Regions from separate parts of the Homo sapiens genome. Here all the other regions are linked to region 2. Evidence: promoter capture Hi-C in 16 types of primary human blood cells and fetal thymus (Javierre and others, 2016). All regions are on one chromosome and are shown on one strand. Each heading gives the region's core, a stretch centred on a gene start or on the middle of the fragment in contact. The rest is flanking DNA. Distances are from core to core; before and after follow the strand shown.

The links. The method cuts DNA at HindIII sites, captures the fragments that hold promoters and counts their contacts. A CHiCAGO score of 5 or more calls a contact.
Region 1: the fragment with the promoter of BZW1 here is called in contact with a fragment that was not itself captured in region 2 in 2 of 17 cell types (total CD4 T cells and fetal thymus); the score reaches 6.1 in total CD4 T cells.
Region 3: the fragment with the promoter of CFLAR here is called in contact with a fragment that was not itself captured in region 2 in 1 of 17 cell types (fetal thymus); the score reaches 6.2 in fetal thymus.
Region 4: a contact is called between the fragment with the promoter of PPIL3 here and a fragment that was not itself captured in region 2, in 3 of 17 cell types (fetal thymus, naive CD8 T cells and total CD4 T cells). The highest score is 6.5, in fetal thymus.
Region 5: a contact is called between the fragment with the promoter of CYP20A1 here and a fragment that was not itself captured in region 2, in 2 of 17 cell types (total B cells and naive B cells). The highest score is 7.3, in total B cells.
Region 6: the fragment with the promoter of ORC2 here is called in contact with a fragment that was not itself captured in region 2 in 4 of 17 cell types (fetal thymus, total B cells, monocytes and 1 more); the score reaches 8.4 in fetal thymus.

What each region holds. Positions count from the first base shown.
Region 1 is chr2:200,809,240-200,813,978 of GRCh38, forward strand. It overlaps BZW1 (basic leucine zipper and W2 domains 1), which reads left to right and starts at 2,671. Exons shown (of 12, transcript NM_001207067.2): 1 at 2,671-2,751; 2 at 3,969-4,042. The coding sequence starts at 3,979. It overlaps BZW1-AS1 (BZW1 antisense RNA 1), which reads right to left and starts at 2,931. Exons shown (of 4, transcript NR_110275.1): 1 at 2,546-2,931. RefSeq lists enhancers at 1,885-2,144, 2,993-3,508, 3,509-4,024 and silencers at 2,195-2,344, 2,875-3,244. The HindIII fragment of the contact is 7,792 bases long and covers 608-4,739 here.
Region 2 is chr2:202,233,878-202,238,455 of GRCh38, forward strand. SUMO1 (small ubiquitin like modifier 1) reads right to left here. Exons shown (of 5, transcript NM_003352.8): 1 at 4,563-4,578. The coding sequence starts at 4,574. Among named protein-coding and RNA genes, the nearest start is that of SUMO1, 2.4 kb to the right of the region's middle. RefSeq lists a silencer at 4,185-4,374. The HindIII fragment of the contact is 685 bases long and covers 2,326-3,010 here.
Region 3 is chr2:201,114,183-201,118,634 of GRCh38, forward strand. It overlaps CFLAR (CASP8 and FADD like apoptosis regulator), which reads left to right and starts at 1,982. Exons shown (of 10, transcript NM_003879.7): 1 at 1,982-2,299. It overlaps LOC105373836 (a long non-coding RNA gene), which reads right to left and starts at 2,502. Exons shown (of 3, transcript XR_923785.3): 1 at 762-2,502. RefSeq lists enhancers at 1,968-2,227, 3,868-3,917, 4,266-4,452, 4,408-4,452 and a silencer at 2,258-2,467. The HindIII fragment of the contact is 6,122 bases long and covers 1-3,017 here.
Region 4 is chr2:200,886,018-200,890,330 of GRCh38, forward strand. It overlaps PPIL3 (peptidylprolyl isomerase like 3), which reads right to left and starts at 3,060. Exons shown (of 7, transcript NM_130906.3): 1 at 2,939-3,060; 2 at 1,596-1,668. The coding sequence starts at 1,598. NIF3L1 (NGG1 interacting factor 3 like 1) reads left to right here and starts at 3,354. Exons shown (of 7, transcript NM_001369441.2): 1 at 3,354-3,635. RefSeq lists enhancers at 2,140-2,884, 2,578-2,627, 2,696-3,895, 2,748-2,997, 2,885-3,629 and 1 more. The HindIII fragment of the contact is 11,124 bases long and covers 1-4,313 here.
Region 5 is chr2:203,236,596-203,241,067 of GRCh38, forward strand. CYP20A1 (cytochrome P450 family 20 subfamily A member 1) reads left to right here and starts at 2,423. Exons shown (of 13, transcript NM_177538.3): 1 at 2,423-2,539. The coding sequence starts at 2,468. RefSeq lists enhancers at 2,124-2,173, 2,459-3,030, 2,854-3,143 and a silencer at 2,244-2,453. The HindIII fragment of the contact is 4,599 bases long and covers 1,306-4,472 here.
Region 6 is chr2:200,960,797-200,965,411 of GRCh38, forward strand. It overlaps ORC2 (origin recognition complex subunit 2), which reads right to left and starts at 2,864. Exons shown (of 18, transcript NM_006190.5): 1 at 2,694-2,864. LOC105373835 (a long non-coding RNA gene) reads left to right here and starts at 2,636. Exons shown (of 3, transcript NR_187976.1): 1 at 2,636-2,834. RefSeq lists an enhancer at 2,097-2,166 and a silencer at 2,875-3,273. The HindIII fragment of the contact is 10,169 bases long and covers 1-4,615 here.

The DNA of each region.
Region 1 (4,739 bases), core at 1,421-3,920, 1.4 Mb before region 2:
CAAGAAAGGTCAAGACAAGATGTGTCCTGTCTGACCAAAGCATAGAGTTCAATTGTTTGGAACCTTTTCCTACCATAATACAATTCACAAACAACGTTTCCCCTGCTAGCTGCACGGTGCCTATTCCCATGGGTGCACCCAAAAGCAGAGAAAAGATAAGTGGCAAGGTGTGGTCTGTAATCCCAACACTTCAGGAGGCCAAGGTGGGAGGATTATTTGAGGCCAGGAGTTCAGGAAAACCTTTAATCCACTTTACATTTTAAAGAAAATAATCTGCTTACTTTAATATCATTTTTAGTCAAAAATCATTTGCTACATACCCCACAATGATGGTAATAACAGGTTAAGAACCACAAATGTGATGGGAAGTAAAGGTGAAAAACATTGGTCAGAGCTATCCCTGAGTATAAACAGAGGCATTTAAACAGTGAAGAGAAATGATTCAGCTTGCAGTTGAGAAGATTGCTCTGGAAATGTTGAGAAAGGGGATAGTACAGTTAGGAAGTTATTGCAAAAGTCCCATTTAGTTAGGGGTAATAGATGCCTAAATCAAGATGGTACTGGGGAAAGATGATACAATTTTAAAACGTGGCAAAAATAGAAGATAAGCTTTGTGAGGCCATAGGCGTAACATGTCACTATCTCTACTGGTCTCTAGCTGAATAAATATTTGTTGAATGAATAAATAAGATCTTGGTGGTAAGGCGGTGCATTATAATGGTGAAGCCAGACTGCTTGGGTTCAACTGGACCTCTTCCACTTACTAGCGCTATGATCTTAGACAAGTTACCTGACCTCGATGCCTCGGCTTTTCCATCTGTAAAATGGGACTAATAATAGTGTCTAGATTACAGGGTAGTTTTCAGGATGAAATGGGGTTACTACATAAAGTGCATAGAAGAGGGCCTGATACATATAGGGACATATTAGTTATCATTTTTATTTGTGAAACGTTGTCCTTTAACAGAACTTCAGATGTGAAAAATACAGTTCTGGGGGAAGAGCAATTGACAGCACTGACAGTGTTAAATTAGCCATGAAGTGAAGATGCCAGATAGTGTGGACTGGGGCCTTGGGAGAAAGGAAGGGGCTAGACACTTAGAGATCAGACTCCAGCCACTTCCCTCTGCTCCCCACAGCCCTCCCAATCACACTAGCTTCTTGCAGTTCCTCCAACAGATGCAGTTTGTTTCCTGCCTCCTTCCCACTGCTGTTGCCTCAACTTGGAAGGGCATAGAGCCTGGATTTAACAAATATTTGCTTAATGATTCAGTAGATGATCTTGGAACTCTTTTAAGTGGAGTAAATGTTAAATCCTTGAGAATGTATGAGACTGCCATAGAAGAAAGTATCCAGAAAGAAAAGGTATCAGTACAGAAAAGAAGAGTCAGAAAATACCGTGCAAAGGCACATTCAGAACGTAACCAGGATAGCTGGAGCCAGGATTCAAGGAGAGAGGTAGGTAACATTCAATGCTCAGAGGAGGCAAACAGGGTGAAGAATAAAACACTGGGTTTGGCAATAATTTCAGGAACGAACGCTGAGAAAGTCATTTTTCCATGAAGTTGCGGGGGGGTGGGGTAGAGGTCAGATAGTTAATTAGGGAAAAGAAGTCAACAAACTATTTTATCAAAAGGTTTAGGGAAGAGAAGCCACTCTCCTCCTACCAGAGAGTGAGGAAGCAACTGGAGAGAAGTAAACTACTGTACAGTGAATAAAAACATGGGGCTACATCCTAGAGGCGCTGTGCATCTTTATCTGCACAGAGTTTTGTCACGTCCACAGTGCTTTTCACACGCACTATCTAATCTGATCGTACCCCAGCTCCCTGATGATATAGCCTCTAACTGAGGGGTTCTCAAGGTGCGGACCAGCAGCAGCATCACAGATAACTTGTTGGAAATGCACATTCATGGGTTCCACACCAGGCCTACAGAATGAGAAACTACGGGTGGGGCCCAGCAGTCTGTTATAACAAGTCCTCCAAGGGATTCTGATGCTCTCCAAGTCCCCATAGCCACCACACTCGGGAGACAACCGCTGCAGCGCGCAGGGACCGCGGTTGGAGGACAGAATTTCCCCTTCTCAATCTTCGGCCTGTGTCCTCTTCGCTCTTAAGGGAGGTAGTGAACAATGAGACAGCCCCTCAGAGAAAAGTCGCCAGGCAGGGGACTCAGCTGGAGCGAACTCCGCCCATCCCGGCCAGGGCGGAGGCGAGGTGCGGATTCCTTCCCCAAACCACGCCCCCATGCCCGCCCCCAGCCTCCGCCCCCGCACGACCCGAGGGCCCCCCGCCCTCGGGCTTCGACTTCCGGTGCTGGAGGAGGGGGCCGGCGGCGAGGGACTCCAGGAGGACGCGTCCAACTTCGAGACCGGCGGGGGCCGGCTCCGCTCTTCCAACCCCTCCATGTGTGAAGAGGGCGGACGACGCAGCGGGGGAAGAAAAATAAGCTAGTCTAGGACAAGTGTCCAGGCGACGTGGAACCCAGTAAGGGAATAAAGAAGACTGGAAACGTCTCTCCCCTCCCCTATCCCAGTCCCTCACCCTAATCCGCGCGCAATAGAAAAGGCGGAAGCGCCTGTCCACGATCAGGGCGGGGCAAGGGGAAGAAATCTCGCGATAGGAGAGCGGTCCGGGCGGGGGTGGCACCTCTCCCTCCTCCTGGCGTTAGTTCCGGTCGCAGAGGAGACACCGCCGCAGTTGCCGGTACATCGGGGATTTCTGGCTCTTTCCTCTTCGCCTTAAATTCGGTGAGACGCGGCGCCCCGCTCACCCCGGGCGGACGCTGCGGGTCGTGGACGCCGGGCAGAGGGAGAGGGAGGCGGCGGGCTGGATGCGGCCCGGCTTGGATGGGCCCGAACGGAGGTCGCCTCTTGAGGCCGGGCCGGATCTAGGGCCTGAAAGGCCGCCGCTTCGGCAGGGAGGCCGAGGGGTAGCGGCGGCCCGGGTGGGGAGGTGGGGTCCGGGTGTGCGCCGCGGCGCTGGCTGCGAAGGCAGTGGCCGAGGCGGGCTCCCTCTGGGCCGTGCCCGGCCTGGCTAACAAAGCCGCCGCGGCCTCTGTTGTGTGATGTACGCGTGGGGGCTTCCGGCGGGCGGGGCGGAGGGGCTGCCACCCACCACCGCTGCGGCCGCCGCCTCCGCCGCTGCTTTCGCTGGAGGGCGGGCGGATGTACGGGGCGCCTGGGGCCCCGGCGCAAAGCGCCTCAGTGACTGTGGTCCGCTCGTTGCGGCGGCCGCCACCGCAGGCGACAGGGTCAGTGGAGAAAGAGCCGCGGGACCCTACGGCGCCCCGCTGTGGCCGATGGGGTCCTGGGCGGGAAGCGGGTGATCTGTGGCTCGGGCGGGAGGCATGGGAAGGGTGTGGATTGGGAGACACGTTACCGGGGAGGAGGCTAGGACTGTGGGATATGGGCGAAGGAGGCTGGGCTGGCTGTTAGTTTTGCAGGCCTGAGTGGTGCAAGGCGGCCGCTGTTGCGGTCACAGGCATGACCTAGGGTAGGATGGTGCTGCCCGTAACCAGGCTTGTCAGAAGAAGGGGTTCACCTTTTGACAGTGTTTTAGAATTGGCATACACATTTTGGATGCCTGCTGACTATGGTGATAATCTCTCTTTGCGTTCTGCGATGCTTAGTGGTCGTGGAAGATGTAAGTGAATGTAAAGAGGAATGTGGAGAAAACTGAACAATTAGGTTTATGACGGGTGATCACTGTAGCACTACAATGTCGCTTAAAAGTAGTTCACAGCACTAATTTGAAGGGTTTCTTGTAGAGAGAAATGCACATTTTGACGTACATTTGATTCAAGTGCAGGTAATTCTTTGTGCCTGTATCGGGTATAATTGCCAGCTTTATATCCTGAGAGTGGGTGTTCCATTTGATTCATATGTGACTAGACTAAGGTTTGATGTTTTGCTTTAAAAATTAGTATTATGGCACTGATATTAAGGCTTTATTTCTCCTTTCCTAGGGTGTCTTTTATGAATAATCAAAAGCAGCAAAAGCCAACGCTATCAGGCCAGCGTTTTAAAACTAGAAAAAGAGGTAAATATTTACGTTTTAATGTCTCTCTTCAAACCTCCAGAACATCTTGTGTATCTTGCCTTCTCTGACAGGTACTTGCATATTACTAAAGCCTCAAAAGAAGATACCAGAAAGAAACTTGAATTTCTCGTTGACTGCCATTTCACATACACCTTTAATATTTCTACTGCTTTACTGCTCAAGCCTTAATTTTTAGTATCAATATATCTCTAAGCCGGTTAGTGAATCTTCTTTTCGGTGTGAAGGTAAAATATTTTTAAAAATAAAAATAAGGGCTCTGTTTTCACTAGCAGGCAGTCTCATTTAAGCAAACTTAAATGAGCAAAAATGTTAATTTATAAAAGGAGAACTCCTAATGTAGTCACCCAGATTTTGTGAAGATTTGTGAGAGAAAACTCAGACTTCACCCATGGAAGTTAATTGTGGAACAGGATTCACATTGTAATGTCTTTTGAAATACAGACTTAGTAGAAAAAGTATTAGAATTATATTACTATTTTTTTTTTGCATTAGTGTGTACTTAGGTGAGTATTGAATTCTGTAGCAAAGTGCTGTGCTAGTGATATAAAGCTAAATAAGACGTAGTCTCAGATATATTTTTACTGTTTTTGGTCAAAAGCATATTAACCTTGTTTTACAGGTGGTTTTGAGGAAATGAAGAACTAGGTCAGCTACTGGTTATAAGTTGTGTTTTTCT
Region 2 (4,578 bases), core at 1,418-3,917:
CTTGAATTGAAGAGCTGACCAAGCTACCTTTAATGATTTTGGTATAAAAAAGAAACACTATAAACTCAAATATCAGAAAGGAGGAAGGGGAAAATATTTGTACAAATTACCCTTATCCTTTTGATATTAAGCTTCGGGTTCTGTACGAGCACTTTGTTTTGCTACAAGGTGAGACTGGGCTAAAGGAAAGCACCCAATCAGATTTCTGTTACTGGTTAAAGGATGGTCCTTAACCATTTTGAGGAATCACGTACCCCTGATGAGACTATGGGTCCTTTCTCCTATTTAAAAAAAATATATATATATGGCTGGGCTCACGTCTGTAAACCCAGCACTTTGGGAGGCCAAGACGGGCAGATCACCTGAGGTCAGGAGTTCGAGACCAGCCTGATGAAACCCCATCTCTACAAAAAATACAAAAATTAGCCAGGTATGGTGTCATGTGTCTATAATCCCAGCTACTAGGGAGGCTGAGGCAGGAGAATCACTTGAACCCAGGAGGCAGAGGTTGCAGTAACCGAGATCACACCACACTGTACTCCAGCCTGGGCAATTGAGCAATGCTCTATCTTAAAAAAAAAAAAATACGTATGCACAAATACTCACAAAACACTCCATACAATGTAAGCGAACTTTCAGTCTTTATGGTCTATGGGCCTTAGGTTTAGAACTTATTTTAAAGGATTATTTAATAATGGTACACAAATCTACTAGATGATGTTGGAATTGTTAAAATTATAAAGAAGTGGGTTTTTTTGTGTTTTTTTTTTTTTTGCCAGGCACGGCACCTCACGCCTGTAATCCCAGCACTTTGGGAGGCCGAGGCGGGCGGATCACAAGGTCAGGAGTTCGAGACAGCCTGGCCAATATGGTGAAACCCTGTCTCTACCAAAAATACAAAAAAATTAGCTGGGCATGGTGGCTAATTTTTTGTGACTCCGTCTCAAAAAAAAAAAAAAAAAAAAGTTTTTTGTTTTTTTTCCTTTTCTTTTTTTTTTTTTTTTTTTTTTGGGACAGAGTCTTGCTCTGTCGCCCAGGCTGGAATGCAGTGGCATGATCTCCGCTCACTGCAACCTCCACCTCCCAAGCTCAAGCGATCCTCTCGCCTCAGACTCCCAAGTAGCTGGGATTACAGGCATGAGCCACCAGGCCCAGCTAATTTTTGTATTTTTAGTAAAGACGTGCTTTCCTCATGTTGGCCAAGCTGGTCTCAAAGTCCTGGCCTCAAGTGATCCCAAAGTGGTGGGATTACAGGCGTAAGCCACCCTACTCAGCCATTAAGAAGTGTTTCACTCAAATTCCAAAAACAATCATTTTTTCATTAATCAATGGAGGACCCAGCAATTGAAGTCTTGTGTGTATTTAATGTCCACCGATTTTAACCTTGTTATTACTCAATTTCACTATTTTAACACCAGACAATAACCTTCTGAGAGCTGCCTCAGAAAACACATCACTCTAAAATAACTTGATTCAAATTAAGGTTGTCTTCTTAGGACAGTGGTTTAGTCTCATGCTGATATTAAACAGTACAGGATTTGGAGATTCTTGTTCTCACTTATAAACCTCTTAAGATTAAGGGTTCAGCTTTATAACTCTTTTAAGTCTTTAGCACTCAACACTGAACTTGTACTGGGTCTTCTTTGTTTTGAGTCAGGGTCTCTATCGCCCAGGCTGAAGTACAGTGGCATGATCTTGGCTTGCTGCAACCTCGACCTCGCAGGCTCAGGTGATCCTCCCATATCAACCTCCTGAGTAGCTGGGACTACAGGTACAGGCCATCATGCCTGGCTAATTTTATTTTTTGTAGAGACGACGTCTCTCTATATTGCCCAGGCTGGTCTCAAACTGGGCTCAAGCAATCCTCCCCCACTTAGGCCTCCCAAAGTGCCAGGATTACAGGTGTGAGGCGCTGCACCCGGCCAATGTACTGAGTCTTTTTTTTTTTTTTAAACGGAGTCTCACTCTGTCGCCCAGGCTGGAGTGCAGTGGAGTGATCTCCAGTTACTGCAACCTCCGCCTCCCGGGTTTAAGCAGTTCTCCTGCCTCAGCCTTCTGAGTAGCTGGGATTACAGGTGCGCACCACCACGCCTGGCTATTTTTTGTATTTTTAGTAGAGACGGGGTTTCACCATGTTAGTCAGGCTGGTCTAGAACTCCTGACCTCGTGATCCACCCAACTTGACCTCCCAAAGTGCTGGGATTACAGGCTTAAGCCACTGCACCCGGCGAGTCCTAATGATGTTGGTCAATCAGCCTACAGCAACAGTTCTCAAACTTTTTGTTCTCAGGAATCTTACACTTAAATTTATTTAGAATCCCATAAAGCTTTTGTTAGGTTGGTTACATCTATTGATGTTTACAGTATTAAACACTGAAAACTGAGAAATGTCTTAAATATTAATTCATTTTAAAATACCAACAAACCTGTTATATGTTAACAAATATATATTTTTATTAAAAATATTTTTCAAAACAAAATTAATGAAAGAGTGGGACTGTTACACATTTTTGCAAATCTCTTTAATGTCTGGCTTAATAAAAACAGCTAAACAGCTGGATTTTCACATCTGCTTCCACATTTAATTTGTTTTATCACAAGTCATGTTAGTTTCTAGAAACGTCCATTGAACACTCATGAAAGAATGACAGTGAAAAAGACAAATAATGTCCTAGTATGAACATGAAATAAAAGAATCTATTTGTATCCTAGGTCCTTCATTTCTTTATGTATCTCTTAAATAACCTGACTTCAAAATGGAGCAATAAATTCTACATTTTATAATTATTTCTTTATGTTGCTCTTCCATCAGTCTACAATAAATTTCAAAATGCTTCCTAGACGCTTCTGGGAAACAAAATAAAAGGCTGACGAAACTAAGCATTTACGCCTATACTTTTCTTCCTAGTAACCAAGTAAACAACTACCTAGGGAAACACAATGCCCACTTGGGAATTAATCTAGATTATTAGTAAGTAGATCCATCCAAAATTCATCTAGATTATGGTTAAGCTTTAAAATGTTAAGTGTACATTTTGTACAATAGTACCAATCTGCAAAAACCTCACTTGCTCTCACGAAATGGTACAAAACTGGGTTAAAAGCCAAGGGAATAGGTGTGTTAAATTTAAAAGTTCAAGTACATCGTGGAGTTGAATGAAAAATAGTTTTCTGAATAACTACCATTAAATGAGTAAAAGTCCAAAAATAATGTAAAAAGTCAAAGTCGGCTGGGCGCGGTGGCTCACGCCCGTAATCCCAGCACTTTGGGAGGCCGAGGTGGGCGGATCACGAGGTAAGGAGATCGAGACCAGCCTGGCCAATATGGTGAAACCCCGTCTCTACTAAAAATACAAAAATTAGCTAGGTGTGGTGGTGAGTGCCTGGTGGTGAGTGCCTGTAATCCCAGCTACTCGGGAGGCTGAGGCCCGAAAATTGCTTGAACCCAGGAGGCGGGAGGGTGCAGTGAGTGGAGATCGCACCACTGCACTCCAGCCTGGCGACACAGCGAGACTCCGTCTCAAAAAAAAAAAAAAGTCAAAGTCGTCTGAGCAAACAAAAGACCAGACAAAAACTTTATGAATTAAAAACTAGCCATAAAGTTGTTTAATTAGAACAGGATGAGGAAGAAAAGGGGAAATCGATCACTCCTGATTAAGTGCAAATCCCAAGTAAATTATTGATACTAACAGTGAGCTGGAGCACTTTGCCTTACCAGGCAACTTTCTGCAAATATTCTGCAACGACTCTACATACACAAAGTTTTCCTATGCTTTTCCTCAAAAATATGAGACTTCCTCAGGTTAATGCCCAGGTGAGATGCTTTTTGTTGCTCTAGCAGTTTAGTTCTATTTTCTTTCTTGGTTATTATGAATGCTCTCTTACAACTGGAGAGCTAGGATGAACCAATCCCGAGTAAGAAACGGGAAAGTACAGTAAAGAGGCGACAGCTCTGCACCCCCACACGGAAAAAGACTCAGAGGAGAGCAGCGGCATCCTTGCCCTAGCTCCAATCCGAACGGAGGCAGGATTCCCAACAACATCGGACGTCTCCCTCCCTCGCCGCCCCACGCCCTCCCGACGAAGAAGCAAAAAGTGGAGAGTCCAGCCGCTTCTCAGGGCCACGGAGCCTCCCAGTCAGGGATTCTCTCCCGTTACATAACTAAGGCCTAGGGCCCTGCTTCTGCGATTAGTCCTCTGGAAGGAGACGGACGGGTTCTCCAGAGACCCTCCCAGGGAGGTGGAAGCGGGGCTCTGCACCTAGTCGACCCGGGAGAAAGAAGTGGGACGACATGAGGGAGGCCGCCACCAAAGGCGGTGGGGTACGGGGGTGATGAGCGAGCCCGGAGAGGGGCGGGCGGCTCCGGGAGCCCCGCAGCAGGCCCCGGCACCTCCGGCCGTAGTCGGCTCCTCTCCCTCGCCTGCCTAGTCCCCACCGGCCGCCCCCTCCCCCATTCCGCGCTCCCCTCCCCCGCGCCTCCATCCCCGACCCCAGCCTAGCGGCAGGCAGACCTGCAGGGAAGGCCCTGGCCACCGCCGTTGGATGGCTCCCAGCCCGGTACCTGGTCAGACATGATG
Region 3 (4,452 bases), core at 732-3,231, 1.1 Mb before region 2:
CTGAGTAGCTGGGATTACAGGCGCCCGCCATCACACCCAGTTAATTTTTTGTATTTTTAGTAGAGATGGGGTTTCACTATCTGGGCCAGGCTGGTCTTGAACTCCTGACCTCGTGATCCACCCGCCTCAGCCTCCCAAAGTGCTGGGATTACAGGCATAAGCCATTGCGCCGGGCCACAAATTTTTTTTTAAAGAATTAGCTGGGCATGGTGGCACCTGTAGTGGCACACCTAGCATGGTGGCATGCTAGGACCTGTAGTCCTAGCTACTCAGGAGGCTGAGGCAGAAGGATCACTTGAACCTGGGAGGTTAAGGCTGCAGTGAGCTGTGATCGGGTCACTGCACTCCAGCCTGGAGTGAGACCCTGTCTCAAAAACAAACAAAAAACCAAACTTGGATAACTGACAGAGTTTAGGATAGAATTACATGGAAAAACCAACAAAACAAGACAATTATTAACTCCAGAAAAAACTAAAAGTTGTGTGGGAAAGGAAAAGTAATCATAGTTTGGTACATAACTTGGCTGTGACTACCGTTTACATGATTATAATAGCATATATACTGAAGATTAATCAAACAGAATATAACTATCTTGGGAAGATGGAGAGATTAAAAAAAAAGGTTGGGGGTGAATATGGGGTGAAAGTGATGGAGAAAAAGAGCTGAAGTCTCCTCTGGTGTCTCAGCACTCCACCCAAGGTAGAGCCTCTGGATGGAAGAAGGAATCTCCCACCTCTCCACCACACTCCCCCAGGATTTACCTTCAGCATCAGGTAGCTAGGGGCAAGATGAGAAATGCTGATATGCTGGTCTCTGACTGGGAGCTGTGGGAAGAGAGAGGTTCTGAGTTGCAGCAGTCTGGAGTGGAGTCTCTTGCTGAACAAAGGGAGAGGTTTGGTTTAAATACCACAGACTGACTCTCACATTCTGATCCAAGAGTTTTCATAGATTTTTTGGAACAGATGTTTCTTCATTTGCTGTTTGCCCTTAGGACCATTTCAAAGGCTTTAAATGGTTAATGGTTGTTTGTTGTTTTAAATAATTTTCAGTTTCACTAGGGGTGAATCCCGAGCTCTTCATGCCGTCCTGCTGTTAGTCTCTCTTGGTATTATTCTTCACCTTTCCTGTGAGTTTAAAATTATCTCAAGAAAAGTTAAAGCTCTTTAAGAATCACAATAAAGTAGTTATTAGGAATAAATAAAAACGTAGAGGGGCGCGGTGGCTCACGCCTGTGATCCCAGCACTTTGGGAGGCCGAGGCGGGCAAGGATCACTTGAGGCCAGCAGTTGGAGACCAGCCTTGCCAACATGGTGAAACCCCATCTCTACTAAAAATACAAAAAAAAAAAAAAATTAGTCGGGCATGGTGGCTTGCACCTGTGGTCCCCGCTACTTGGGAGGCTGAGGGCTGGATGGTTTGAGAGCGGGAAATCCAGGCTGCAGTGAGCTGTGATGGCGCCACTGCCTTCTAGCCTGGGCGACAGCGCGAGACCCTGTCTCAAGAAGGAAAACAAAAAAAAACAAACAAAAACATACACACAAAAAACCACAAAGTGTGTTCACGTTTGCTATGACTCCCAGACAACAATTGTAAACACTCGCGCCGGGCGTGGTGGCTCACGCCTGTAATCCCAGCACTTTGGGAGGCCGAGGCGGGCGGATCACGAGGTCAAGAGTTCGAGACCATTCTGGCCAACAGTGAAACCCCGTCTCTACTAAACACAAAAATTAGGCGGGCGTGCTGGCGCGTGCCTGTAGTCCCAGCTACTCGGGAGGCTGAGGCAAGAGAATCGCTTGAACTAGGAAGGCGGAGGTTGCAGTGAGCTGAAATTGCGCCACTGCACTCCAGCCTGGGCCACAGAGCGAGACTCTGTCTCAAAAAAGAAGGAAAGAAAGAAAGAAAAAAAAAAACACTCGCAGTGTTTACTCCTAACGCGTGGAACTTGTGTCGACATCCACCCCCGGTTACTGCATACTCAGTCACACAAGCCATAGCAGGAAACAGCGAGCTTGCAGCCTCACCGACGAGTCTCAACTAAAAGGGACTCCCGGAGCTAGGGGTGGGGACTCGGCCTCACACAGTGAGTGCCGGCTATTGGACTTTTGTCCAGTGACAGCTGAGACAACAAGGACCACGGGAGGAGGTGTAGGAGAGAAGCGCCGCGAACAGCGATCGCCCAGCACCAAGTCCGCTTCCAGGCTTTCGGTTTCTTTGCCTCCATCTTGGGTGCGCCTTCCCGGCGTCTAGGGGAGCGAAGGCTGAGGTGGCAGCGGCAGGAGAGTCCGGCCGCGACAGGACGGTACGTGCCCCGCGCTCGACCCCCGCGCTGGCGGCGCCGGAGCTGTCCCAGACCCCAAGCCCCGACGCCCGGCCCTGAGTCAGCATTGCAGCAGGCCCTGCGCCGCCGCGCCCCGCGTCCCACCCCGCGCCGCTCCTCACAGCCCTGCGCTCCGGGAAACTGCAGGTGGCCGGCAGTGGCCAGGGGATGGCGGGGGCGCTTCTGGAACCTGACTCAGTTTTGTAGGTTCCTTATCTCGGTTGTTTACCGCGGGCTTTGCGGAATGCCCCCGCTTCCGTTTCCGCCCGGCTCCGAACCCCCGAACCCCTTCTACCCGCAACTCCGCCCCGGATTCCCAGAAAGGGGCGACCTGGGCCACAGCGGTACAAGCTGCACCCCGATGGACCTGAGAGACCGGAAGTAACCCTTGGCCAACTCTGGCCGCCCCCTGCAGCCGCAGCCCCAGAGGCCCACCCGCGAGCTTCAGTGGCGGGCCCTCAGCGTCGTGTAAACTTTGCTTAAAATGATCTTGAGAGTTCAATTCTTGGGGTGAACTGTTGAGAAGATCTGGCATTTTTCCTTTCGAAAGTTGTTGGGAACGTGGACTTTCCCAACAATTGTGTATGCGCTCGATCTCACTCAGTGGGAGCCGCCGCCCTGGAGGGAATTTCACAATAGCCTGGTCAGGGCGGTTATTTTCCAGAGCAGTTTAATGTCTATTTTGCCCAAGTGCAAGGAAAGCTTGCCTTGGGAAAGCTGGGAATGCTTGGCTAATGAAAAGTTTTTAGAGCCTTTTAAAATGAACCTGTTTCTGCCACTTTTCCACCGCCTCAAAACGACTGGGAAATGTAAACTGGCTTCAAGATGTTCTTGCTTGAGGGTGTCTGGATTTGGACAGAAGGCCATGTTCTTTTAATATTAACAGTGGCACGCAGTAGAACAAAGGCCACTGAAATTCAGAATCAGTTTTTGGCTCCACGGGCAGGAAGTAAATTCAAGGACGCCAGAGGTCTTGCGAATATTTTAATTGGTTGACATTTGAAATTTGTTCTTAAGCAATGAGGGGTGAAACCAGTAGGGGGATAGCGTATAGCATAAGTAAAGCTTTTTGGACATCAACAAACTGCGATAATCTACAACAGACAGCGGGCTCTGGAAGGTTTGACCTGCTTTAGAGAGAGATTTCCGATAAGAGGAACGGAGTTTTTGGCACTTTTCGGTTTGGTGATTCCCCTAAATAACCTTACAAAAGTTTCGTTGAACAAAAAACCTGGCTGGAGCTCCAAGATCTTTTTTTTTTTTTTTTTTTTTTGAGACAGCATTTCACTCTTGTTGCCCAGGCTGGAATGCAATGGCACTATCTCTGCTCACCGCAACCTCCGCCTGTCGGGTTCAAGCGATTCTCGTGCCTCAGCCTCTCAAGTAGCTGAGATTACAGGCATGCACCACCATGCCCGGCTAGTTTTGTATTTTTAATAGAGACGGGGTTTCTCCATGTTGGTCAGTCTGGTCTCGAACTCCTGACCTTAGGTGATCCGCCCGCCTCGGCATCCCAAAGTGCTGGGATTACAGGCGTGAGCCACCATGCCCGGCCCAACTCCAAGATCTAAACAAAAAAGACTGGGTTGAAAGGGAGTTTTTAATGTTTACTGTTTGCTTTACATCCATTTTCTTGTTTTGTTAATACTTGCTTTACTTAAGCTTTTGGGTCAAATGTCCTCGTTAAAATGGCTTTCTCTAGCGACTTTATGTTTTACGTTTCTGTTTGTAACTGACATTTGACCTTCTTTTAACACGGTATTACTTGCTTCCTTATACCGGTTTCCAAGGTGAAGCCATTTGCAGGGTCGCTGGGTTTCCCCCTCCCCCCGAAAGTCTTGCGCGACCCGGGGTGGGCCGGATAGTGTGCAGTTTTTTGAGCCTTGGGCTGGGGACCTCCAGGAAGCTGAAGCGGAAATTGCCTAGGCCCCTGGGGCATTGGAGGTCCTACCGCAGCTCCTAGTAGGTGGTGGGGGCGCAGCGGCTGTCCCCACTCAGTCCTGGTGGGGTCGCACGTAACGGTCCTGAGCTATGCATAAGCCGTTTGACCACGCATGGAGAATTTTACCACCCAGAGACACGCGAGTGGCCCTGTGCAAGTTTCAACTGCGCGGGGGGCGGGGAATTCCGCAGAC
Region 4 (4,313 bases), core at 1,810-4,309, 1.3 Mb before region 2:
AAAAATTTGGAAGTAAATATTTTGATGGAAAGAATTATTTTAACTTTGAATTTTTTATCAAGAAAAATAAAAACAATTGTTATGTATTATTGATGTACATGGCAATTCACCAACATCCTTATTTATAGAAAAATGATGAGAAAATGATTTTTCAAAACATAATTTCCACCATTTTCCTTAGGTAATTTAATTCTGAGAAATAGGGTTAAAAAATAATTCCTTTCTCGACTAACAAAAATATAACAAGTGTCAGTGTTTCTAAATCTTAAATGTGCAGAGATAACCACAGTGCTTTCTTGCTTGCTTTTTGTTTTTGTTGTACCTGTTTTTCTGTAACCTGTATACCCCTTGATATGATACTGTATTCCAGAGAGGGAGAAAACAATTTGGAGGGTTCCTTTTTCATTTCTCCTTTTTTTTTTTTTTGAGGTGGAGTCTTGCTCTGTCGCCCACACTGGAGTGCAGTGGCGTGATCTCGGCTCACTACAATCTCCACCTCCTGCGTTCAAGCAATTCTCCTGCCTCAGCCTCCCAAGTAGCTGGGATTACTGGGATATGCCACAACACCCAGATAATTTTTGTATTTTTAGTAGAGACAGGGTTTCACCATGTTGGCCAGGCTGGTCTCGAACTCCTGACCTCAAGTGATTGGCCCACCTCTGCCTCCCAAAGTGCCGAGATTACAGGCGTGAGCCACCGCGCCTGGCCTAGCAGTTAGAGAGTATGAGCAGGTTAAAGATGTGTGTGGGAGAAGCAGGGCACTATTCTCATTGCCTTTTTCTACTTCAGGTTCTAGTTGCCCACTTTATTTAATTGTTTTTTTAAAAGTAGAGACGGGGGCCTCACTGTGTTGCCCAAGCTGGTGTTGAACTCCTGGGATCAAGCAGTCCTCTCACCTCCGCCTCCCAAAGTGCTGGGATCACAGGTGTCAGCCACTGTGCCCAGCCTAGTTGCCCACTTTAGATCTAGAGCAAAATAATCCAATTAAAATTGTCAGACCTGTCTATTCTCTTCTGCTCCTTCAACTCTCCCTTTCCATTTCTATCTATCTTGTAATCAATCTTTCTCCATAAAAGGTAAATTCTGGCTGGGCGAGTTGGCTCACGCCTGTAATTCCAACACTTTGGGAGGTCAAGGCAGGCAGATCACCTGAGGTCAGGAGTTCGAGACCAGTCTGCCCAAAATGGCGAAACCCCATCTCTACTAAAAATACAAAAAATTAGCTGGGCGTGGTGGCAGGCGCGTGTAATCTCAGCTACCGGGGAGGCTAAGGCAGGAGAATCGCTTGAACCCAGGGGCAGAGGCTGCAGTGAGCCGAGATTACACCACTGCACTCCAGCCTGGGAGACAAGAGTGAAACTCAAAAAAAAAAAAAAAAAAAAAGGTAAATTCTGTGCATTTTAAGTGACAACATTAAAGAATTTTAAAGCAATTTTGTGTATTTTTTAAAAGAATTATTCCATATTAAGTGCTTCTATATTATACAATTTCTCCATCTTGCCACTGCAATTTCCATGAACTTTTATTGCCCTTGACTGAATTTCTAAAAATTACTTATAATGAAAGACATTAGATAAAAATTGCTCAAAACTTACCATTTTTCCTCTTAGTGGTTTCAGGAAGGACTACGTGATTTCTCAGTCTTACAGCGAGCTCAAAAATAAGTCTCTAGTCCCAAAAGAAAAAAAGAATTAGGCTCATTTTCCTGTCTTAACTCACACACGCTCATCTTTACTGAACATTTTAAATAAAAACCTCGCCGGGCGTGGTGGCTCACGCCTATAATCCTAACACTTTGGGAGGCCGAGGCGGGTGGATCACTTGAGGTCAGGAGTTCGAGACCAGCCTGGCCAACATGGCGAAACCCCGTCTCTACTAAAAACACAAAAATTAGCCGGGTGTGGTGGCAGGCGCCTGTAGTCCTAGCTACTCAGCAGGCTGCGGCAGGAGAATCACTTGAACCCAGGAGGCGGAGGCTGCAGTGAGCTGAGATCGCGCCACTGCACTCCAGCCTGGGTGACAGCGCGAGACTCCGTCAAAAAAAAAAAAAAAAAAAATCCTCTAATGGCATCCCCTAGGTAATAAAAACCCGGCTATAGAAGATATCCTACCCGATTCAAGCCTCCCAATCTCCTACTTGCCCGGCTTGCTCTTCTTCAAGAGCCTCCTTGCAAGTCCCCCAATAACCCAGATACCTTCCCTTAGGGTCCAGGCATTGGGTGTCCCTTTTGCCTGGAATTCTTATACTCAGACATCTCTACGGCTAATTTCCTCACCTCCAAATTTCTGCTTAAATGTCAAGTTTAACTGACCTGACAATCCTACACAGAACTGCTTTAGCCCTTCAGCCCTAGGACATTCCTATTTCCTTCTCCCACAGCACTTATCACTAATATACTATGAAATTCGCTTTTTTTTTTTTTCACCACAGCACTTATACTAATATACTATGAACTTTTTTTTTTCCACCACAGCACTTATCACTAATATACTATGAACTTCTCTTTTTTTTTCATTTTGAGACGGAGTCTCGCTATGTCGCCAGGCTGGAGTGCAGTGCGGCAGGATCTCGGCTCACTGCAACCTCCGCCTCCGCCTCCCGGGTTCAAGTGATTGTCGTGTCTCAGCCTCCCGAGTAGGTGGGACTACAGGCGCGCGCTACCATGCACGACTAATTTTTGTATTTTTAGTAGAGACGGGGTTTCGCCGTGTTGGCCAGGCTGGTCTCGAACTCCTGACTTCAGGTGATCCGCCCGCCTCGGCCTCCCGAAGTGCTGGGAGGCCGCCGTGCAGGGTCCTTCTTTTACTCTGACGTTGCAACAACAGCCTCGCCGCCCACTGTTCACTCGCAGTATCCCAAGAACTAAACCAGTAGCAACACAGAACTCAGCAAGCATTCGAATAAGTGAATGAAAGAATTAATGACGTTACTCCATACTTGGGCTTCACCACTTCGTCTAGCACAGCCGTTGTTAAAACAGGAAAAATGCAATCGCAGATGCCAGCAGAGGTCTGTTGGTTCAAAATTATAGTTTCTTTGGGCCAGCGGAAGTTGGGCGCGGGACCCAAGAGAGAGAACGCCCCTTACCGCCTCACCTCCTTCCTCCCCTCATCTTCCTATCTCAAACCAAAACGACAATGCAATTTATCCCCAACCGGAAATTTGACAGTGAAAGGGAGCTCTACTAATAATTGCACTGGGACAAGAAGTGTAAGGCGAAACTACCTGGGCAACCTCAAGCAATGCTTTACACTCGGCTGCCAAACGGAAAGGACCACTTCCGCCCAGCTCTCCCGCTACGGGGAGCCAAGTGCCACAGCATCCGGAGCGCCGACGCGGGACCGGAAGTGACGCAGAGAAGTTTCCGGGACTGGTGAGTAGTGGGCGATTTAAAAACCCGCGAGTGTAGTTGTGACCTTCGCGGTAGGTGCCGGTTGGGGCCGGCTGTGATTGTTATCTTGGTGCTGCAGAGGACAGCAGAAGAGGAGATTGGGTCAGAAAACTGCCCTGCCGCACCAGAGCACAGCGCACTAGTGGGACAGGGGTCCTGACTCAGACTTAACTGGCTGTGTCTCGTGGTTTTTCACTGTCCTGGAAAAGGCCTGAAGTGGCACTGAAATGAGGCATAGATGAGGTAACGTCGAGGGAGCGGTTTGCAGGTTGCAAAGGGGCCCTACTGATGCTGCTTAATAGTAAACAGTGCTTACTCTAGGACGGGAGTTGTTTCCAGCTTTACGTGTAAATCTCGCGATATTGTGGCCTGGGCACTATTTCCATTAAGGAGGAAACTGCACAGGATAAGTCATTTACCTGCTGTTGCACAGCTCTGGCTCTAGGATTCAGGCTGGCTTCAGAGTCGGTGCTCTTAACCGCCATACTATGTTGCCTTCTGTTGTCGTTGTTGACTGTGGCCATGTAGCTTCGCAGTTTCCTCATCTGTAACAGTAAATAACTCAAAACCTGCATGATGGCCCACTAGGGTTTCACTTTCGAGCTTGCCAGATGTAGAAAATGCTGGAGAATGGAGTACTATGAGGACCATTAGAAGATCTTTCAAGGCCGGACGCAGTGGCTCACCCCTGTAATCCCGGTACTCTTGGAGGCCGAGGCAGGTGGATCACTTGAGCGCAGGAGTTTGAGACCAGCCTGGGCAACATGGCGAATCCCCATCTCTACTAAAAATACAAAAATTAGCCAGGTGTGGTGTTTAGCGCCTGTAGTCCCAGCTGCTCAGGAGGCTGAGGTGGGAGGATCTGCTTGAGCTCAGGAAGTCGAGGCTGCAGTGAGCTGAGATCACGCCACTGCACTCCAG
Region 5 (4,472 bases), core at 1,173-3,672, 1.0 Mb after region 2:
AAAAATTTTAGATGTCAATACAAAAAATGTGTGAAAAGATATATATGTGTGTATGTGTATATATATATTATATATATATTATTTATATATGCTTTTAGGGAGTATCTGGGCAAAACGTTTTAGGAACACAGGAAGAGGAGGTAGATGTCTAGTTTAGAGACTCACACTATAAAATATGGTGCCCTGACAATTTCTGGAATTTTTGTCTCTTTTTTACAGCCCTCAAAGTTCAGAGAGTCTCAGGATGTAGGTCAATTTAGGACTAAAAGAGAATTCTAGATATCTTGAAGGATTGGTACCTAAGATTACGGTACCTAAGATTACGGTTATATGGCTACCTTATGCAGTTAAAACTCTTATGTTTGGCCGGGCGGGGTGGTTCACGCTTGTAATCTCAGCACTTTGGGAGGCCCAGAGGGGCGAATCACGAGGTCAGGAGTTAAAGACCAGCCTGGCCAACATGGTGAAACCCATCTCTACTAAAAATACAAAAATTAGCTGGGCATGGTGGCGCGTGCCTGTAATCCCAGCTACTCGGGAGGGTGAGGCAGGAGAATTGCTTGAACCTGGGAGGCGGAGGTTGCAGTGAGCCGAGATCCCGTCACTGCACTCTAGCCTGGGCTACAGAGGGAGACTACGTCTCAAAAACAAACAAACAAAACAAACAAACAAAAAACTCTTACATTTACTGTTTTGAAAACCTATTGGGAACATCAGTTTGACAAGAAATATCTTTAAAATTCTGAACAAGAGACTTAAAAATGAACTTTGAACATACGACAGTTTAAAGCACATTTATATGCAGAGAAAGACTTAAAAATACAATTTCTGCCAAGTGAAATATTAAACAGCATGTTTCATTATATTTGCTATAGATGCCAAAAGAGTTGCCATTTTCAATGAGGTATGTTTCCTGCTTATGTAACAGTCATTTATCATAGAAGCTGTAAAATGCAATCTGGAATTTCTCTTGCCAAATTGCTGCCTGTTCTTGACATTTTATATTATTAAAGCTATAAAATCTATAAATACTTTTAGCACACTTTCACTAAAAGCAGCACTAGTAAGTAGCAGGCCTTGTCTTGTATTTCAGTAGCCACGTCAAAACTTCTGAGCCAGGCGAAATAGAAAGAGGGGTCCTAGGGTATTTTATGCCCAGGGCAACAAACGCCAAATGCTGACGTAGATAGCACTTATTCGGTTTTGCCAGGAGCTGTGCTAAGTGATTTTCATAAAATATGTAATTTAACCTACAGGCAACTCCATGTGGTATTATTTTCACTTTTTTACATAGAAGGAAATGGAAGCTTAGAAAACTGAAGCAATTTACCGAAAGTCAGAGTTAACAGAGCAAGGAAACCTGAACAGTGTGCAGCCTCCGCTCACCAGAAAGTGTCAAAGAATCACATTTACTAGTACTTCAGACAGAAATTCTGCGAAACAAGGCGTATCTACTCTTGTTTTACTCCCAGACACTTCCCTGTCCCGCTTAGATCAGTGGTGGTTTTCACTCAAATTTAAGTGTGTAACAGTGTCCCCGGGAGGGCTCTGTTCAAACAGATTGTTGTACGCGCCCCCTACCCCTGCCCACCCCGAGTGTTTGATTCAGTAGGTCTAGTTTGGGATCGAGAATCTTTTTATTTTGTTTTCCTTTTGTTTTGTTTTGTTTTGTTTTTGAGACAGGGTCTCGCCCTGTCGCCCAGGCTGGAGTGCAGTCGTGCCATCTCGGCTCACTGTAGCCTCTGCCTCCCCGGCTAAAGTGATCCTCCAGCCTCAGCCTCCGGAGCAGCTGGGGCCACAGGCAAGCGCCACCACTGTAGGCTAATTTTTTTTTTTTTTTTTTTTTTTTTTTTGTAGAGACTGGGGTCTCACTATGTTGCCCACGCTGGTCTCAAACTCCTGGGCTCAAGCGATCCTCCCGCTTCAGCCTCCCAAGGTGCTGGGATTACAGGTGGAGCCACCGCGCCCGGCATCGATAATCTGAATCTCTAACGAGCTCCCGGGCGACGTTGATGCAGCTGGTACCGGGACCACTCTTCGAAAATCATCGGTTTAGAGGTTTTAATTCTGAATCCATTGCGAAAACTGTTGGGCGGACAGAGCACTACTAACTCCTAACTTTTCTCAGAAAGCTGGGCTCTGCTTTCGCCAGCAACCCGGTCCGAAGTCGCGGGCATATTCTGTCTGAAATCGTGTGCACCGAAATCCCCGCCTTGCGGTGGAGGCTGGCGCTAGGCGGCCTCAGCCTCGGCCTGCTGCGCTCAGGAACCCGCGCCCCGGCTCCTCGGCGATCCATTGCTCTTTCCTCTGGCGCCGGCCGCAGGCCTCGGTCACGCCCCCAGCGGCCCGTTGGTTTCCGGGTCCCGCGGGGTGCCCCCGCCCACACGCTATGCCTTAAATTGGGCCAGGCTGAGGCGCTGCTGCTGGAGCGGCCGATCCGAGACGTGGCTCCCTGGGCGGCAGAACCATGTTGGACTTCGCGATCTTCGCCGTTACCTTCTTGCTGGCGTTGGTGGGAGCCGTGCTCTACCTCTATCCGGTGAGCGCCGTCTTGGCTCTCTGGGGCCCCGGGCGCCGCCCCAGTCTCTCTGTCGCCGGCATCCAGGCCAACCTGCCCGCTGCGGGCCGCAGGGGGCGGGCCTGAGAGGAGGGTTCGGGTTCGCTCCAGAGCTTCAGCGCGGGGACCGCACCCGGAGTCACGTGACGCCCCTCCCGGCAAGCTCTGAGAGCGACGTGGGCTGCGTCGCTACCCCTCAGGCGCCGGGCCAGGCGGGCGTAGAGCTGCTGAGGAAAAGCCCGCGCCCCCGCAGGCCGGTCTCACCTTGCCAGGCACCCCGCGCCACTCTCCAAGGCGGCTCTCAAGTACTTTGGGCAGCTTTTTGGCCATAACTCGCCAAACCCAAATTTCATTTCCCAGTGTGTCAGGACGAGACTCCTGGGCGCGCCACTCCTTTCTCCTTTCTTGAGGATTCTCCCAGCACTTGTGTATTCCTCTTTTCCATCTGTCCATCGATCTATCCTGACTGGAATCCAAAGTGCTCGAGGTCCAGGTCTTGCTCCTCTTAGGGGCTCCAGGCAAATGCTTCTTTGGGGAGAGCGCCGCGCTGCGGGTTCGGGTGCGAGGTTTCCTCTGCCGCTGACGCCTCTGCGAGCCTCCGGTCCTCCTCTCTCCACTTGCCTCCGTCAGCGAGAGAGGGAGGGTCTGAAAACAAAAGTGTTGATGACTGAGGACCGTCTTTAAAACCTGTTCTACACACTTTGGGAGGCTGAGGCGGGCGGATCACGAGGTCAGGATATCGAGACCATCCTGGCCAACATGGTGACACACCGTCTCTACTAAAAATACAAACATTAGCTGGCTGTGGTGGCGGGCGCCTGTAATCCCAGCTACTCAGGAGGCTGAGGCAGGAGAATCGCTTGAACCTGGGAGGCGGAGCTTGCAGTGAGCCAAGATCGCACCACTGCACTGCAGCCTGGCGACAGAGCCAGACTCTTATCTCAAAACAAACAAACAAACAAACAAAAAACACCTGTTCTACAAAGCAAGGTGGTGGTTTTACAGTGAAAGTTGAAAAGTAGCTGAACTGCTGGAATTGACCATACACCTTCTTAAATGTTCTTTTCCGAGCAGGTAAATGGATTAGACTAGAATCTTGCAACTACACAATCAGGGACTTCCTGAAATCTTATTTTCTGAGAAACTAAACAATTTTAGTGGTTCTTGAATTTTTGGTGATTTTAAAATGATACTCTTCTTTGATCAGCTCATAGAAGCACACTGTTTATTCTTAGCACTAGCTATGTGCCAGATATGGTTCCACGTGCTGGGAATCCAGCCGTGAAACAAACCGGACAGAAAATTCCTGACTCTTGGAATTTATTTCCTAGAGAAGGGGAACAGACAATAGAAACAAATAACATAGGATTGTGGGTAGAAATAAAGTTGGGGATAGGTAGATTGTTATTTTAAAGTAGGATGGCCAGGAGATACGGAGACATTTGAGTAGAAACGCGAAGAAGGTGAAGGTGCAAGCCATTCTGAGAAAGAGCATTCTGGGTCGAGGGAGCAGCAAATGCAAACCTTCAGAGGGAGACACGCCTGGTGTGTTCCTGGAAAGCAAGGGGACCAGTGTGGTTAGAGTGTAGTAAATGAGGAAGATACCAGAGGAGAGAAAGTCAGAAAGATGGGAGTGAAGGACAAATTTTAAATGACTTGTAAGGCTTTTTTAATGGACTTTTGCTGTGTGCCACTGGAGGATTTCAGCAGATGAATGCCATTTGAAATTGGATAGAATTCAAATTTAATTTTATTAGATAAATTTTAAAAGAATCATTGTGGTTGCTAAGTCATGAATTGACATGGGTCTCCAGGTAAGGATGGAAGCAAGCCAAGTAATTAGGAGGATATTATCATTTCAGCTTGGATCATGGTAGTAGTGGCACAGATAATGAGAACTAGTCAATTGTGAAGA
Region 6 (4,615 bases), core at 1,614-4,113, 1.3 Mb before region 2:
AAGATGGAGTCTGGCTGTGTCCCAGGCTGGAGTGCAGAGGCTCAGTTTCAGCTCACTGCAACCTCCGCCTCCTGGGTTCAAGAGATCCTCCTGCCTCAGCCTCCCGAGTAGCTGGGACTACAGGTGTGCACCACCACACCCAGCTAATTTTTGCATTTTTAGTAGAGATGGGGTTTCACCATGTCGGCCAGGATGGTGTCGATCTCTTGAACTCGTGATTGGCCCACCTCAGCCTCCCAAAGTGTTGGGATTACAGGTGTAAGCCACTGCACCTGGCAGATTCCTAACTTCCTGACCACTCTATTACACCACATACCTCTCCTGCCATCAAATAAAAATGTTATCATAAATGCTTGGTTTTTTTGTTGTTTTGGGTTTTTTGTTTTTGTGGGGTTTGTTTTTTGAAACAGGGTCATTCAGCTCTGTCACCCAGGCTGGAGTGCAGTGGTGCGATCTCAGCTCACTGCAACATCTCACCTCAGCCTCCTGAACAGGTGGGACTACAGGCGTGCAATGCCAAGCCTTGCTAATTTTTGTATTTTTTTGTAGAGACGGGGTTTCCCCATGTTGCCCAGGCTGGCCTGAGCTCAAGCAATCTGCCCACCTCAGCCTCCCCAAGTGCTGGGACTGCAGGTGTGAACCACTGTGCTGGACGCTAAATGCTTGTTTTGACCTCTGAAAACCATTCATAATAGGTCTAATTATTTCTCTACATGTCAATTAGGGTTAGGGTATTCTATAGCAGGTAACTATAGAATGTCCAAACTGGAAAGTTTCTCTAACTTTCCAGTTCATTGGGTGAAACATCACTAGTTCTATCAAGCATACTTCAAAGAGCATGGCCAGAGTCAGCATAATCTACATTATTTTACTTAATTATACACTGCTGTGTACTACAAAGGATTTGAAGCAGTGACAATGAGCAAATGCAATAAAACAAATTATAATTTATAAATGCTAATAGGGAGTCTGCATCAGAAAAAATATAAAGGAAAGCAGAAAATAAAATCACACAATGAATTTTTGGCTCTGAGCTTCCTGGCAATCAAAGCAAAAAGCAAGTAAAGGTCGGTTACGTAATTCTTATTGGCAAAAGTTTAGTTGTTCTTGGGGATGTGGGGACAAGATTTTCTAGGAAAATTTAAAAACAAATATTCTAGGCAACTGAGTATTGTCCTAGGCAATTTCCCTATGGTATTCTACACAAGAATTGCCTGGAGAGAGGCAGCCTGAGACTTGTTTGTAGCCAAGTGCATTTATACAAACATTTCCTTTTCTAATTTTGGAGCATCTTATTAAATAGTACAAAATCACCAAATTAAAGAAAATGTCTACAAAGACCTCATGAGAAACGTTTCCTTCTTTGCTTTCCAACAGTTCCTGAAAAACAAACGAACAAAAAAACCTAACAATCACACAATAAAATGCAATATTTAGTGACCATTATGACCCCTCAAGGCACTGCCTTGGTGCTTATAGGCCAACCCCTTTCAAGGAGTTACTTCAAGGCAATTCTGCAGCACCAAGTGTTAGCATTGCACCAAGTGGTAGCAACACACTCTCCTTTGAAAACAAATAAAAGATTTGCTGTAATTTTTAAAAACATAATCCTTTGAAAAAGAAGGTTGGATAGATTAGTGGTTAAACACCAATTTTAATATTGGAGAAACCTGAGTTCCAATCTCCACTCCATACTTTATAACTGTGTGACTTTGTCCAAAGTCCTGACGATTAAATGAAATGATGTGCCTGATATATAAAAGAGCATCACTGAATGCTCCCAATTATCGGTATTTTTACTTTAACCTTTTTCTTTTTTAGCTCCTTACTGCAGTGCACTGAGATATTTTTACTTTAAACTTCAACTTAACCATGCAGATCTCTTGTACATCTCTAACTCATTCAACATCTAACAGAAAAACTGCTCAATAAGTGATGATGTCCGTTTAACGTGCAGTGCCCTTATATAACGGTGTAGGGCCGTGCTATTTTTCTTCAGATTGCAATTTAACTGCGGGAAAGTGTAATGATTCTATTAGGATTTCAATTGTAAAATGAAAAGTAACGTCTCAACATCTTTTTAATTAAAAAGCTCTACCAAAAGAGCCTGGCTTATCAACATTTTACAGCCAAGCATGGCTCCAAGGTGACCGATCAGTTAGCTGGCAGGACACATTGGTGCCTCCAGGCTGGGATGACATCAAAGGTTCTAGCTACAGTGGTTCTGGGACGCGATCTCTTCCTCTTCATACCTCACAGGGCACTTTACCACTGTCGTTACACATCTTCACAGTTCTCCTTTTCCAACCAGAGGGCTTCGTAAGCTGGGAATCAGGTAGGTTAGTATCAGGCGTCCCTTGCACAAAAGGCCTATAACTGCGGGGCAGACTAACGAAAGGTCCTCCCAGAGTGAGCCTCTCACCTCAAGTCTTAAAGGACTTTGGCCTGCGCCTCCAGCCTCTGGCCAGTTGGCTGCGCTCCACCAGTAAGGGTTCTCGAGCCCCCGGGCAGCCTGCGGGGGGCAGCGAGGCGCAAAGACCATGCCCCAAGTGCCGAGGGAAAGTCCTGAGATGCGCGACTTGGGACGCTAGGGGCCAAGCTCCGACGCGGGGCTGGGTGCACCTGGACGCACCTCACACGCCGCGAGCTAAGCAGAAAAGGGAGGCAGGCTGCCCCGACACCCCACTACTCACCGCTAGGTTTCCGTCTGGCGCCGATCCGGCTGCGTCACGCCGGCCGAACGACACCCCGCTGAGTCGCCGCCGCAGGGAAGGTACCTTCGGCCCCAACGGGAAAAGCCAATTTCCAGTAATTCGCGCCCGACCACCGGGGAGGTAAGGAGCACCGGAGGCCAGCTGGGGGATGGGAAGCCTGCGTGCGGCACACCGAATCTCCCGCCCTGTTCAGGGGGCGGTGCCCGAGGAAGCCAATAGGAAGAGGAGTCGGCCAAGAGCGACGGCTCTGCCGTCCAGTCGGCGCCGGCCATTCGGCCCCGCCCATCAGGAAACCTGAGGAAAACGGATTCTTGGGCCCTGAGTTGTGGGCCTTACCTTTCCTTTCTTCTTTCCGTTTCCGGGGAAGGGAAAAGGAAGTGTTGTTTGGATCTGAGGAAGTTTGCACAGTAGCTGGCTGAGTGGTAGCTGTTTGTCTTGTAGCAATCTTTAAAAAGTGTTCTTTGGGGTCGGGCGCAGTGTCTCACGCCTCTAATCCCAGCACCTTGGGAGGCCGAGGCGGGCGAATCACCTGAGGTCGGGAGCTCGAGACCAGTCTGACCGACATGGAGAAACCCCGTCTCTCCTAAAAATACAAAATTAGCCGGGCGTGGTGGCGCATGCCTGTAATACTAGCTACTCGGGAGGCTGAGGCAGGAGAAACGCTTGAACCCGGGAGGCGGACGTTGCAGTGAGCCGAGATCGAGCCATTGCATTCCAGCCTGGGCAACAAGAGCGAAACTCCGTCTCAAAAAAAAAAAAAAAAAAAAAAAAAAGTGTTCATTGGTTTCCCAGCTACCTTTTGAAGAAAAAGGTAATGGAAATTGATTCGCATTTCTTTTTTAAAGATTTTCTTCATTTGGCGTGAAAGGTAGGATCTTGTACATCTCCAGGGTTTGGGGTAGGGAGAAGAAGAGACGTTAGGAGAAGCACTGAATATGGAGATGGGATCGGACGGCTAGTGGGATGAAGAGGCTGGGGAAATAGAATGAATAGACAGAGAAAATGATTGACTTCAACTATCCAAAATATAAAAAAGACAAGACAGAGAAAATGAGGAAGAAAAGGAATGAACCTGGATGGGATCCATACAGTATTAAGAACAGGGTATTGTTTCATTTGGATTCACTTACTCAAAACAAAACTACAGAGTACTCTGCGAACAGAAGATAAGTATTCATTATCGAGCGAGACAACTACGATCTCTGCATTCACTGTAGTTACCTAGCACGTGAAGATATTGAACGGACAATATTGAGAAAAATACCATGATATGGGAAGTGCATTGGAGCACATGGTAGGAGTAGCTAATTAAAAGCCCAGAAGGAGTCAGGAACAATTTTCTAGGAGGAAGAGATGTTTAAACTGAAACCCCTGTGTTGAATAGATTTAAAACAGGCCAAGAGGGGTAAAATTTTCCAGGTAGAAGGTCCAAATCCGTGTAACAGCTGTGTAAAATGCCAAGCATTGGGTCTGTTATTATGAAGGGCTTAGTTGGCCCTTAGGGCACTGGTCAGATTTGTATTGAAAGATCTTTGGATAAAGGAGGTAGGATTGGGAGGGAAGATATAGAGTCACAAGATTTGGGAGCTGTTTAGGAAATCCAGTTGAGAAAGAAATGATCATAGCCTTGATACCTCATTATTCCATTTTGGCTAGGTGGAGTTAAGAAAATGGAAGAGAAAGGCAATTTTTTGTGCATTATAAATAAGAATTTGGGGAGTGACTAGAGACAGAAGATAAAGAGAACATAGCTCAACAGTTAACAATGATGTGTTTGAAGAGTGTTTAAAAATGTGAAGATGACTAGCCCAGCACACACACCTGTAATCCCAGCTACTTGTGAGGCTGAGAAAAGGAAGATTGTTTGCATCCCAGAGTTCCAGGATGCAGTGAGCAGTGAT